2 separate regions of the Homo sapiens genome follow, and region 1 is linked to region 2. Evidence: promoter capture Hi-C in human tissues and cell types (Jung and others, 2019). All regions are on one chromosome and are shown on one strand. The core of a region is centred on a gene start or on the middle of the fragment in contact, and the rest is flanking DNA. Distances in the headings are between cores, read along the strand shown.

Region 1 (6,155 bases), core at 3,602-6,101, 120 kb before region 2:
CTTCTAAAAATACAAGAATTAGCCGGGCATGGAGGCACGTGCCTGTAAGCCCAGGTACTTGGGAGGCTGAGGCAGGAGAATCGCTTGAACCCGGGAGGCAGTGGTTGCGGTGAGCCGAGATCACACCACTGCACTCTAGTCTGGGCAACAGAGTGAGTGAGACAGAAAGGAGGGAAGGAAGGAAGGAAGGGAAAGAGAGAAAGAGAAAGAGAGAAAAGAAAGAGGAAGCAAAAAGGAATAATCAGAAAACAAAATGCCAAAATTTTAGTGTCATCAAAACTAAAAGAAGAATTTTAAGATGGGATAGTTAACAATGCCAAATAATGCTAAGAGGTAGAGAGAATGAAAACAGAAAATGCCACTGACATTCAGAAAATGGAAGTCTGGGCCTGATAAAACACTAAGAAGCAAGTGGATACCAAGTAACAGAAGCAACGAATATTGATATTTTATTTTTTGAGACAGTCTCGCTCTGTCACCCAGGCTGGAGTGCAGTGGTGCGATCTCAGCTCACTGCAACCTCTGCCTCCCAGATTCAAGCAAGTCTCCTGCTCAGCCTCCTGAGTAGTTGGGATTTCAGGCACCCGCCACCATGCCCAGCTAATTTTTTTTTTTTTTTTTTTTTTTTTTTTTTTTTTTTAGTAGAGACAGGATTTCACCATGTTGGTCAGGCTGGTCTCAAACTCCTGACCTTGTGGTCCGCCCGCCTCAGCCTCCCAAAGTGCTGGGATTACAGGCATGAGCCACTGCACCCAGCCTGGATGTTTTTATTTTTAACATTAAGGAAACGATCAGCATGTTTCTGTATCAAGAGATGATATGGAGAACATGGAAACTGGGGTTAGCCTTGGTGAGAGGAAATACCTCTTCTCCAGGGGCAGAAGAGAAGTAGAAAAAAATATGATAAAGAAGAAAACAAGGTCACTTACCTCAGCCTCAATCTCTCCTACGAAGTAGCTGACAAAAATCAGGAACTTGGAGAATATGGAGCAAAAGTACCACAGAAAAATAATCTCTAGGGTCAAACAGGTAAATCAGCGAAGGTGGCCGAGAGGGGACGGAGGAAAAGCTGCTGCTTTTCATGAGAAGACAACTGCCTGAGGAAGAGGAGGCCAGCATGCCACCTTTCAATTTTCAAGAGACTCTGGAAATCTAGATTTACATAAAATGTCCCCATTTAAAAAAACTGACAGCTATTTCAAACTTAAAAGAAATTCTATGTAAACCAAAAGAGAATGGAGCCCCCGAGCTGGCGGTGAACTAAGACAGTGAACTAATGGCCACAGCATTAGCTCACTACAAAGAGTCAATGAATTGAATTAAAATGTCTAAGAAACAACTTAGGTTAAAATATATATATATAATAAACTTGCAGCAGCATGGGTTCCCATGGATTTTTCTTACAGTAATATACATCAAGAATAGAAAAGGAAAGTGGTAACTTTTACCCTAAGTTGGGGCTAACATATTTTTAAAACATAAGGGTAGGCCAGGCGCAGTGGCTCACACCTATAATCCCAGCACTTTGGGAGGCCGAGACGGGTGAATTACTTGAGGTCAGGAGTTCGAGACCAGCTTGGCCAACATGGTGAAACCTCATCTCTCCTAAAAACACAAAAAACATTAGCCAGGTGTGGTGGCAGGCACCTATAACCCCATATACTCCGGAGGCTGAGACAGGAGAATTGCTTGAACCCGGGAGGCGGGAGGCGGAGGCTGCAGTAAGCCAAGATTGCACCACTGCACTCCAGCCTGGGCGACAGAACGAGAGTCTGCCTCAAAAAATAAAAAATAAAGGCCAGGTACAGTGGTTCATGCCTGTAATCCCAGCACTTTTGGAGGCCGAGGCAGGCGGATCACCTGAGGTCAGGAGTTTGAGACCAGCGTGGCCAACTTGGCGAAACCCTGTCTCTACTAAAAATACAAAAATTAGCCAGGCTTGGTGGTGGGCATCTGTAATCCCAGCTACTCAGGAGTCTGAGGCAGGAGAATCACTTGAACCCAGGAGGCAAAGGTTGCAGTGAGCTGAGATCACGCCATTACACTCCAGCCTGGGCAACGAGTGAAACTCCATCTCAAATTTAAAAAAAAATAAAATAAATTTAAAAATTAGCTGGGCGTGGTTGTGCGTGCCTGTAATCCCAGCTACTCAGGAGGCTGAGGCACAGGAATCGCTTGAACCCGGGAGGTGGAGGTTGCAGTGAGCCAAGATTGTACCACTCACTCCAGCCTCAGTGACACAGCAAGACTCCATCTCAAACTAACAAGCCCATAAGAGTAGGATGTGAGGATTTCTAGATTTACAAGGGGCACAGAGCTGGAATGTCAGACTGTGGGGCCAACATGAATTGGCAGATAAGAGGAGCTAGGAGTTTGGGATTGGGAAGATGAAATGTTTCAGGGACTAGCTTAGCAGCATGAGTTGGGAAGAAAGAAGAAGGGACTGTGGAAGCAGTTTCAAAAGTTAGTGGGTTGACACAGGAAAAGTTATCTGAAAAGATCTTTAGAGCAGAATAGTTCCCCATGATGCAATTCTAAAGGAGCCAGATGTGTATACAAAAGGGAATCTGTATTTTTGTTTCCATCTTCCCCCAGGATCGATTCTGAGTAAGGTAGAGTAGAAAGAGCAAGGGTTTTAGAGCCAAACCTAGTTTTTAATCCTGGCTTCACCGCTTGTTAACTGTAAGAACATGGGTGAGTTCCTTAATTTTGAGCTGAAGATAGAATACCCCTAGAATAGGAAGCACATGTGGATGCCGTGAAGATGGCTCACAGTAGAGCATGCAAGGCCTCTCAGCACAGTTTCTGGAGCATAGAAGTCCACTCCATCCAAGTTACTCTTTCCTGTCCTCTGATGAAACGCCTGATGCAATGGGAATCCCATTTTCTGTGAGAATATTTGAAATTTTTCCTGATTTTCTTTTTGCAGAAGACAGGAAGAAATTACAGACTAAGAATGGGCAGGCACCTCAATGATCAGGCAAGGGATTCTCTATCTACTCAGTCCAGATCACTTCTGCGAAGCTAATTTTAGCTGCTGAAAAGTCAGGGCTGGAGATTTTGTTCCCCATGAAAGAAAGCTCAAATAATAAACTCTGGACTCAAAAGTATCCTGTAAGTCTAAAAGCCAGGGAATTACAAAATAGAACCAAATGCTGTGTATCAAGGAGGTAAAAGAGTCCAGGGAGCTTTAACAGAATTTCAAGACTAAGCTGGCCAGAGAGTTCCACCGCCTGGAGTGGATAAGCTCTAACAGAAGTGAACATAGGGACCCAAGGAACAGACAGCAGTGGAGAAGATGGAGTGAGTGAAGCATTACCTTAGCTATAGATACCTGGCCCAGAGAGGGACCTTCATAGCCAAGGAGTAGCTAGTGAATAGGCTCACTCACCAGACAGCATCACTGAAATGCCAAAAGATCAGAGAGAGGGCATGGGATAAACAGCATTCTGCTTGGAGGGAGAAAGACAGAAGGGGGCTGTCACCAGCGATGGCCAGATGCAATGAAATACCATCAGGAAAGAAACAGCCCAGGTACTGTCATCTCTGCTCATCTTCCAAGGTCTGGGACTTAGAAGTGGCAGGATTATTCCATAAATATAGTCATCTACACCTGAACCCACCATCACCTTATCTAATAGTAACTAGGAATCAATTATGCCGTCAGTATCACACCACGAAGACAACAGAGCCTCTCCCCACAAGGCACTTACATAACCAACACTCAATCCATGAAAACACTAAACACTAAAAACTTAGCAGGGGCTGGGCGCGGGGGCTCATGCCTGTAATCCCAGCAGTTTGGGAGGCTGAGACAGGAGGATCACCTGAGGTCAGCAGTTTGAGACCAGCCTGACCAATATGGTGAAACCCCGTCTCTACTAAAAATACAAAAATCAGCTGGGTGTGGTGGCACACGCCTGTAGTCCCAGCTACTCGGGAGGCTGAGACAGGAGAATTGCTTGAACCCAGGAGGTGGAGGTTGCAGTGAGCCAAGATAGTACCACTGCACTCCAACCTGGGCAACAGAGCGAGACTCCATCTCAAAAAAAAAACAAACACTTAGCAGGACTGCTGGTGAGGAATGTTTAACCCTAGTTACTCTGACTGTGGAAGGGTATCTGATTGTATAATCTAGTATGAAACCATAGAGTAAGTTACTTCTGTTTTGTTGAGGCATAAGGAAAAGAAAGGGCAGGGTCTCTCCGGCAACATTAAACCTAGACATTACTTGCTTTCCACTGAACTCCATGCTTGCCTATAAAACACTCTGAACTTTAGCAAGAAAAAAGCCACATTCTCAGGACGCTTGACCACAGTGTGCACTTTGAGGAATGCTGTTCTTGCAGCACTTGTGTGCATCTGTGTAACAAGAAAGAAGAAAACAAACCCACTAGACTTTTGTTAGGAAAATACAGTTGGTGGAGACTGTGCAACATTAAGCCAGCAACTATAGACAGGCTGAGAATTCCCTACAGGCATCAGCCCTGACTCCAAGGCTTCATGCCTCACACCAGCCATGGCTGGCCTCCTTCAGAGCCTGCCACAGAGCCTTGGCACATGCTGTTCCTTCCAACAGCATAAGCAAAAAAATCCTGCTGTATCTGAGCTGCTACTGACAGATGTCTCTAGCAAGGAAGAGATAAAGACAACTCAATTTCACCCTTCTTCAAATATATTTTACCTAGAACAGATCCTATATTTTTATGCAGATCATATTTAAGGCTGCCTGGATTTCTCCTCTGAAAAGCAAAGCATATGGAAATTCAAATACTCAAGTATATTTACTTTAAATAATTAATATCAAAAATAGAAGGAGAAGCAAGATTCTAAAATATGTATTTGCCTAGTGTACTTTCCCATTGTGATAGTTACTGTTTGGTCTTAGCCAGGGATAAATTTCAAATATGAGAAATCAATGAAATCCATTCCATTGAGAATTATCTGGAGAAGAGTGATCCCAGACCCACTGAGTAGTTTTTATTTCTCATTTATGATCAAGAATGGAATCTACTTATCCCAAAGTTCATTTGGCCTGCTGATACTAAGTACCTTCCCTACCTCCAGCCACCATAAACAATACTTTGTCCTATATGGCAAGACTCTGGGCTGGAGTTCAAGGCCTTTCACAGTTTGATTGCTTATCTAAGAGTTCTATGAGTTGGGAGAGGGATAGAGCCAATATTGTGTGGAAACAGAGGCACCCACAGAGAGAGGACACCCTCATGCTGCTGATAGACAGCTCAACCGCCTTGAGTGCCAGCTGAGACAAGTGCTTTCCCCAAATCGACATTTTGTGACTTTTTGAACTTGCATTTCTACCCCCCCACTTTTTTTTTGGTATGTTTAAACTACTACAAGAGTCTTGCCTCGAGACAAACTTTCTAACCCTGGTTTTATTATACTACCATCTCAAAAATAATAATAATAATAATTCAAGAAAAAGAAGCTCGGCCGGGTGCAGTGGCTCACGCCTGTAATCCCAGCACTTTGGGAGGCCAAGGCAGGCGGATCACGAGGTCAGGAGATCGAGACCATCCTGGCTAACACAGTGAAACCCCATCTCTACTAAAAATACAAAAAATTAGCTGGGTGTGGTGGCGGACGCCTGTAGTCCAAGCTACTCGGGAGGCTGAGGTAGGGGAATGGTGTGAACCCAAGAGGCGGAGCTTGCAGTGAGCCAAGATCGTGCCACTGCACCCCAGCCTGGGCAACAGAGCAAGACTCCGTCTCAAAAAAAAAGAAGTTCAAGCTTCTTGCTCAGGCACTGAGGCTCAGCATAATCCAGCCCTACCTCAGGCCCCCAGCTCCTCAGCAAGCCCCAATTGGTCTATGCATGGTCACCCACACGAGCCTGCCCTTTGCTCATGCCCCATGAGCACTTACTCATAGTACGTGCTAAGTAAACATTTGTTCCAAGTGAACGAATTTAAGACCTACCATTTTCAAGGCTCAGTTCAAATTTTAGATTATATACGAATCCTTCCATGACCACCACAGTCTGAAGGTATCATTTCATCTTCTGAATTTCAGTTATCGCTCATGTACTTAACAAGTTCTATGTAATACCTACTGCGAGGCAGGTATCAGGGCTCAACCCAGAATAGCTACCGTCCTGCCCTGAAAGAGCCTGGAGTCCAGTGGGGAGAGTTATG
Region 2 (5,861 bases), core at 2,591-5,090:
AGAAATTTGAGACCAGCCGGGGCAACATGGCAAAATCCCATCTCTACAAAAAAGAAAAAAAAATTAGCCAGGCATGGTGGAACACACCTATCTACTACTACTCAGGAGGATATAGTGGGAGGACACATTGAGCCCACAAATTCAAGAACAGCCTGGGCAACAAGACAGAATAAATTCTGTCTCTATTTAAAAAGAAAAAAAGAGGCCGGGTGCAGTGGCTCACACCTGTAATCCCACCACTTTGGGAGGCCAAGGTGGGCATATCACAAGGTCGAGATGGAGACCATCCTGGCCAACATGGTGAAACCCCGTCTCTACTAAAAATACAAAAATTAGCTGGGCATGGTGGCACGTGCCTGTAGTCCCCACTACTTGGGAGGCCGAGGCAGGAGAACTGCTTGAACCCAGGAGGTGGAGGTTGTAGTGAACCGAGATCGCACCACTGCACTCCAGCCTGGTGACAGAGCGAGACTCAGTCTCAAAAAAAGAAAAAGGGAATATACTGTATATTTGAAAATTGCTAAGACAGATTTTAAGTGTTCTCACCACGCAAAAATAAGTATGTGAGGTAATGCATGTTAAATAGCTTGATTTAACCATTCAGTGTATACATATATCAAATCATGCTGAACACTATAAAAAATATAGTATACAACTTTTAGTTGTGAAAAAAACATGATTTATTAAATATTTCTCCCTTCTTCATCAACTCCCTCTTCCTTTTGCTACCTCACAGTCTTTGGAATTCTCAATCTGAAATGTACCCATCCCTCAAAACTCAATTTAAATCCCACTGGCCACACCAATGCTATGAAATTCCCCTCTCTGAATCCTAAAGCACATATCCTCATTCCCTTTATGCTGTTACTTTTTCTATGTTTGCCTTGTCTTTCCCCAAAAGCTGTAAGATCCTTAAGGGCAGGAGCCACATATCACTCCCTATCACCTCCAGGACACTCAGCAGAGAACCTTGGATATATTTAGGAAGAATCCGGTTATACTCAATTGTGTTAGGCCTCAATTTACAAATCAGATATGACAAATAATATATCACACCAAAAAGATCAAGAAACTTCTCCAGGCATTAACTAAGGCTTAGAAAAACACCTATTCAGCTTTTCAAATTATCCCTTTGAAGTAAGGACTTAAAGGTGAGAAGAAAAGATATAATCAATTGGGGAAGTTTAGACTGTCTTCTCACTCTTTTTTTTTTTTTTTTTTTTTTTTTGAGACAGGGTCTGGCTCTATTGCCCAGGCTGGAGTGCAATGGTGCGATCTCAGCTCACTGCAACCTCTGCTTCCTGGGGTCAGGCAATCCTCCTACCTCAGCCTCCTGAATAGCTGGGACTACAGGTGCATGCCACCACACACACGGCAAATTTTTTTATTTTTTGGTAGAGACGGGGTTTCTCCATGTTGCCCAGGCTAGTCTCGAACTCCTGAGCTCAAGCGATCTGCCTGCCTTGGACTCCCAAAGTATTGGGATTACAGGCCTGAGCCACCACGCCTGGCCAACTTCTCACTCTTAAAGGCAAAATAGTGAACAGCAACTTAAAGATCAAAAAAGCTAAGGATGGAATATTCAACAAGGCATCACATTCAACAACACACCACTGGTCACACACATACTGGCTGAATTCCAGACTCCCTCTCTATGGTAGAAGAGTTCTGCAGGCTCTGATGTTGGCTGGAAAAAAACTAGACACCTGCTCTTCCCAGCACTGAAATATGGCCAAAAAAAAAAACATAAACACACAGCAAAATCAGCAAACAAAGCTAAGTAGCATTTAGGCGGGGAGCAGTGGCTCACGCCTGTAATCCCAGCACTCTGGGAGCCCGAGTCGGGTGGATCACTTGAGGTCAAGAGTTCGAGACCAGCCTGGCCAACATGGTGAAACTGCATCTCTACTAAAAACACAAAAATTAGCCAGGGTGCGGTGGTCGTGCACCTATAGTCCCAGCTACCCGGAGGCCGAGGCAGGAGACTCTCTTGAACCCGGCAGGTGGAGGTTGCAGTCAGCCGAAATCATGCTCCTGGGTGATAGACAGAGGCTGTCTCAAAAAAAAAAAAAGAAAAAAGAAAAACAGCTAAGTAGCATTTAGATGAAACTATGACTCTGAAGTAGGGGGTGCGGCAAGTAGAGAGGAAAGAATGTATCATAATGCCTTAAACAAAACTTTTGAGTGAGAGAAGACTATAAAACACCCTTTAAGCACTTATTCACTGGACTCCATTTGTGTTTCTAAGAAATAAGATATACAGACTCACTTCAGAAGGTTTTCTCCTACACTGTATCTGAGACACCATAAATAGAAACATACATTATGTTGCCACTCTATCACAAGACTGAACCTGGACACTTGTAAGGAAAGGAACAACCATAAAGACAGTTGGCCAAGGACAGGATTGACATTCACTCTGGGGGAGCTCCTCGTAGTAGCTACAACCCAACCCAAAACAGTTTCTGGGTTTGTGATGCTGGTGCTGGCTAGTATGCTGCATAAATGTTGTTTGTTTTTGTAGAGAGGGGTCTCACTCTGTTGCCCAGGCTGGTCTCAAACTCCTGGCCTCAAGCAATCCTCCTGCCTCGTCCTCCCAAAGCACTGGGATTACAGACCTAAGCCACCGCGCCTGACCTACAAAAGTGTTTTCTTCCCAACCACAGCACTGCCTCTCAAGGGGCTAACACTCTGGCAGAAACTCGTGAAAACCAATTTCACGTCAGAGGAAGCATCCCCAACATTCTGTCCCGGCTCTTTTTCTTAGGTGAAGAAAGGGACAGGGCGGGGGGCGGAACAATGATATTAAAGACACTGGCAGCATGACAACCAAAATAAACGAAGTTGAAACAGTACGTCCTGCCTTCTTCCTAAAGCCATTTCCTTCAACAGTGATAGGAGTGCAGACCGTCTGCAAGTCATTAGTACGCTGCTGTCTTCACTGTCACAAGGACCCTGGAAACCACTGAAGAGCAAAATCCCCCTTTTCGCCCCACAGATACCTTCCAACCCCCTTTCTGTGCTTCCTTCCCTAGAAAAAACCGAAGAGTGACAATCCTCAGCAATCCGCTATTTCGCTTCACTGACAAGGGAGGTGGCGGGGGCGGTGGGGGGTGAAAAGTGGAAAAGAACACAGAGGAAGGTGAGAAGACACAGTGGAAGAAGTGTGGGGGGAGGTCATCGTAGGAAAAAGACCAGGTATAAAAGAATGCAAGAAAATTGAGGGGAGAGTTATCAGAGGGAAACTTGCTAAGAAAAAAAAAAATTAAGGACACGGGAGGTAAAGAGGTGAGGTCAGGTGGAGCAGCCCAGGATGAATTAAGAGGTGGGCAGGAGGTACGGGGCCGAGGCCGTGATGCCCAGGGTTTAGGGCCGGCGGCTTAGAAGTGGGCAGCAGGTATTCGGCAGACCGATGTCGGGCGAGTCAATGATGTGCAGAAAGCTCCAGACCCAGTTCCGGGAAATCGGGGCCAGGAATCTATGAGGTTCCCAAGTATAGAGAACACAGCGCTCTTACCGGTAGTTTGGGGCTGACCTCGCCCTTGCAAAAGTGGCAGAAAAACCGGTGGGCGGCTACAGCGGCGCCCGAGTCCGCCCCGGCCGCCGAAGCCTCCGCCATTTTTGCCCTCCGCCGCGGCCGTCCGAGAGGGCAGCCGGCCCGTCCCTCGCCAGGCCGCTACCTCCCGAGCTGCAGTCGTCGCCGCCGCCGCCGCCTCGGTGCGGCCCACCGCTTCAGAGCCCGCGTCGGTCACGTGAGTTGGCCAGGCCCAGAAACGCGGCGGCGCCAACAGCTACCCTGCGGCCCGCCTCCCAGCACCAAAGAGGCGCAGGAAGGAGAGACAAACGGCCCGCCCGCCGGCTCCACAAACAGCCCCTCGCTGGTCCTCCAGTCTTCCAGCGAGAAGAAAGAAAGAGCGTCCCCGGAAGCCGCCGAAACTCTGGGGTAGAGTGGCACGCGCTTTTTGCTTTTCCGCGTCTTCTTCGGTGGCGATCCGCGTCCTAGAAAGGGCGGTGGGCTCCACCTCGGCCTAGAAGGCCAGCGGGAGCCGTAGGAAGCCGTCGCGGGAAGCTCAGCCGAATTGGAGTTGGAGCCCCCGGATTGCGCTGACCCTGAGGTTAGTGGAAAATGCTGTCTGAACGTGGCGGCACTGACTGGACCAAGAGACCACGTCCGAAACGGGAACCTGTGTAAAGGAAGTGTAGAGCTAGGAGCCAAGCGCCTTGGAAGCCCTTTCCGAGGATGGCAAAGGATCTGGGAATGCTTCTCCAAAGATATGTGGATGGACGAAATAGGTCTCTGGTGATACTGAGGCGGGGTGGGGACGGGGAGGCAAAGACTTGGCTTCTTAGGAATTGGAAGAAATAAGTAAACAATGTTTGGTAGCAATTTGTAATAAGGAAGTAATCATAAAATTAACTACGTCCGTTTCTGATTGTGTCAACTTTGTCAAGGAGTAGAAGTTTAAGAATTGAATACTGTCCTGCAAACAACGTAACCTCATCTCCTGTTTGACACACCCTGTTGAGAAGCAGTCCTTTACCTCCTAAATTTCTTTTTCGAAATTATCATTTCCTTTATGGACTGAGAATAACACTGCCTGTTCACTCCCACCGAGCTGTGAACAGTGACCTTAATTCTTCCAAGCAGTGAAGTGTAGAAACTAAGGTCTGTGACAGACCGCAAAATCATCTCCCAATCTTTAAGGAAAATCAGAATCACGCATAATCCCATAGAGATAAATTTGATGCATAGTCTTTTCCTATGCATACATTTTTCCTTTTTTTTTACAATAATTGAATTTTTATATTTTTTCAGCTTGCTTCTGTCACTTAATATATTATGAGTAATTTTTTTTGTTTTTTTTTGTTTTGGAGACAGAATCTCGCACTGTCGCCCGGGTTGGAGTGCAGTGGCGCGATCTCGGCTCACTGCAACCTCTGCCTCCCGGCTTCAAGCGATTCTCCTGTCTCAGCCTCCCTAGTAGCTGGGATTACAGGCACCCGCCACCACGCCCAGCTAATTTTTTTGTGTGTTTTTAGTAGAGAAGGGGTTTCACTATATTGGCCAGGCTGGTCTCAAACTCCTGACCTCATGATACGCCCACCTCGGTCTCCCAAAGTGCTAGGATTACAGGCCTGAGCCACCGCGCCAGCCTATTATGAATAATTTTCTACATGAATACGCATCGTACTAAATAACTTTAAATGTTGGTGTAGTATGCCATTGTATGGGTATGGCATCATTTATTGTTAGACGTTAGATTGTTTCCACTAAGTCGGTATTATAAAGAGAACTAATGACTTCATTATTATTAGCTTTTTCTTTCTTTGGACACAATATCCAAAAAGAAATTGTTGTTTCAAAGATATGCAAGATTTTTAAGGCTTTTTGATATGTATTGTCAAATTGCCCTCCAGAAAGAATACATGAATTTACACTCAGCAGCTCTGCTTCCAGCGTGAAAGACTTTCTATTGTACCATTTTGGTGTTTTTTCCCTAGCTCTCAGACTCCCCAGTACAATGACTCAAGCAGAAATTAAGCTCTGTTCTTTGTTGCTGCAAGAGCATTTTGGAGAGATTGTAGAAAAAATTGGAGTCCATCTGATAAGAACCGGCAGCCAGCCACTAAGAGTAATTGCCCATGACACAGGAACATCACTGGATCAGGTATGTCTAAATGACATTCATTTTCTCTCATTTCTTTCACTAATTTATTTCACCCACCTTTGAATATTGTTCTTCTCACCCCAGAAAAGGAAAAATGAAGAAAGCCTGCCCTTGGAGCAGAACAATGTTATTTCGGGGAGAAAAGGATGAGACTTAGACATCAACATTTTGTTTCTCAAAGTGTTCCTAGTT

The links. Contacts are between HindIII fragments. The study calls those that stand out against the background at their distance.
Region 1: a contact is called between a fragment that was not itself captured here and the fragment with the promoter of RNF115 in region 2, in 3 of the 25 tissues and cell types used here (IMR-90 fibroblasts, mesendoderm cells and thymus).

What each region holds. Positions count from the first base shown.
Region 1 is chr1:145,697,160-145,703,314 of GRCh38, forward strand. All of the region lies in intron 1 of PDZK1 (PDZ domain containing 1), which reads right to left. Among named protein-coding and RNA genes, the nearest start is that of PDZK1, 7.1 kb to the right of the region's middle. The HindIII fragment of the contact is 5,621 bases long and covers 2,042-6,155 here.
Region 2 is chr1:145,820,255-145,826,115 of GRCh38, forward strand. RNF115 (ring finger protein 115) reads right to left here and starts at 3,841. Exons shown (of 9, transcript NM_014455.4): 1 at 3,518-3,841. The coding sequence starts at 3,619. POLR3C (RNA polymerase III subunit C) reads left to right here and starts at 3,946. Exons shown (of 15, transcript NM_006468.8): 1 at 3,946-4,115; 2 at 5,503-5,669. The coding sequence starts at 5,523. RefSeq lists an enhancer at 3,807-4,206. The HindIII fragment of the contact is 19,576 bases long and covers 1-5,861 here.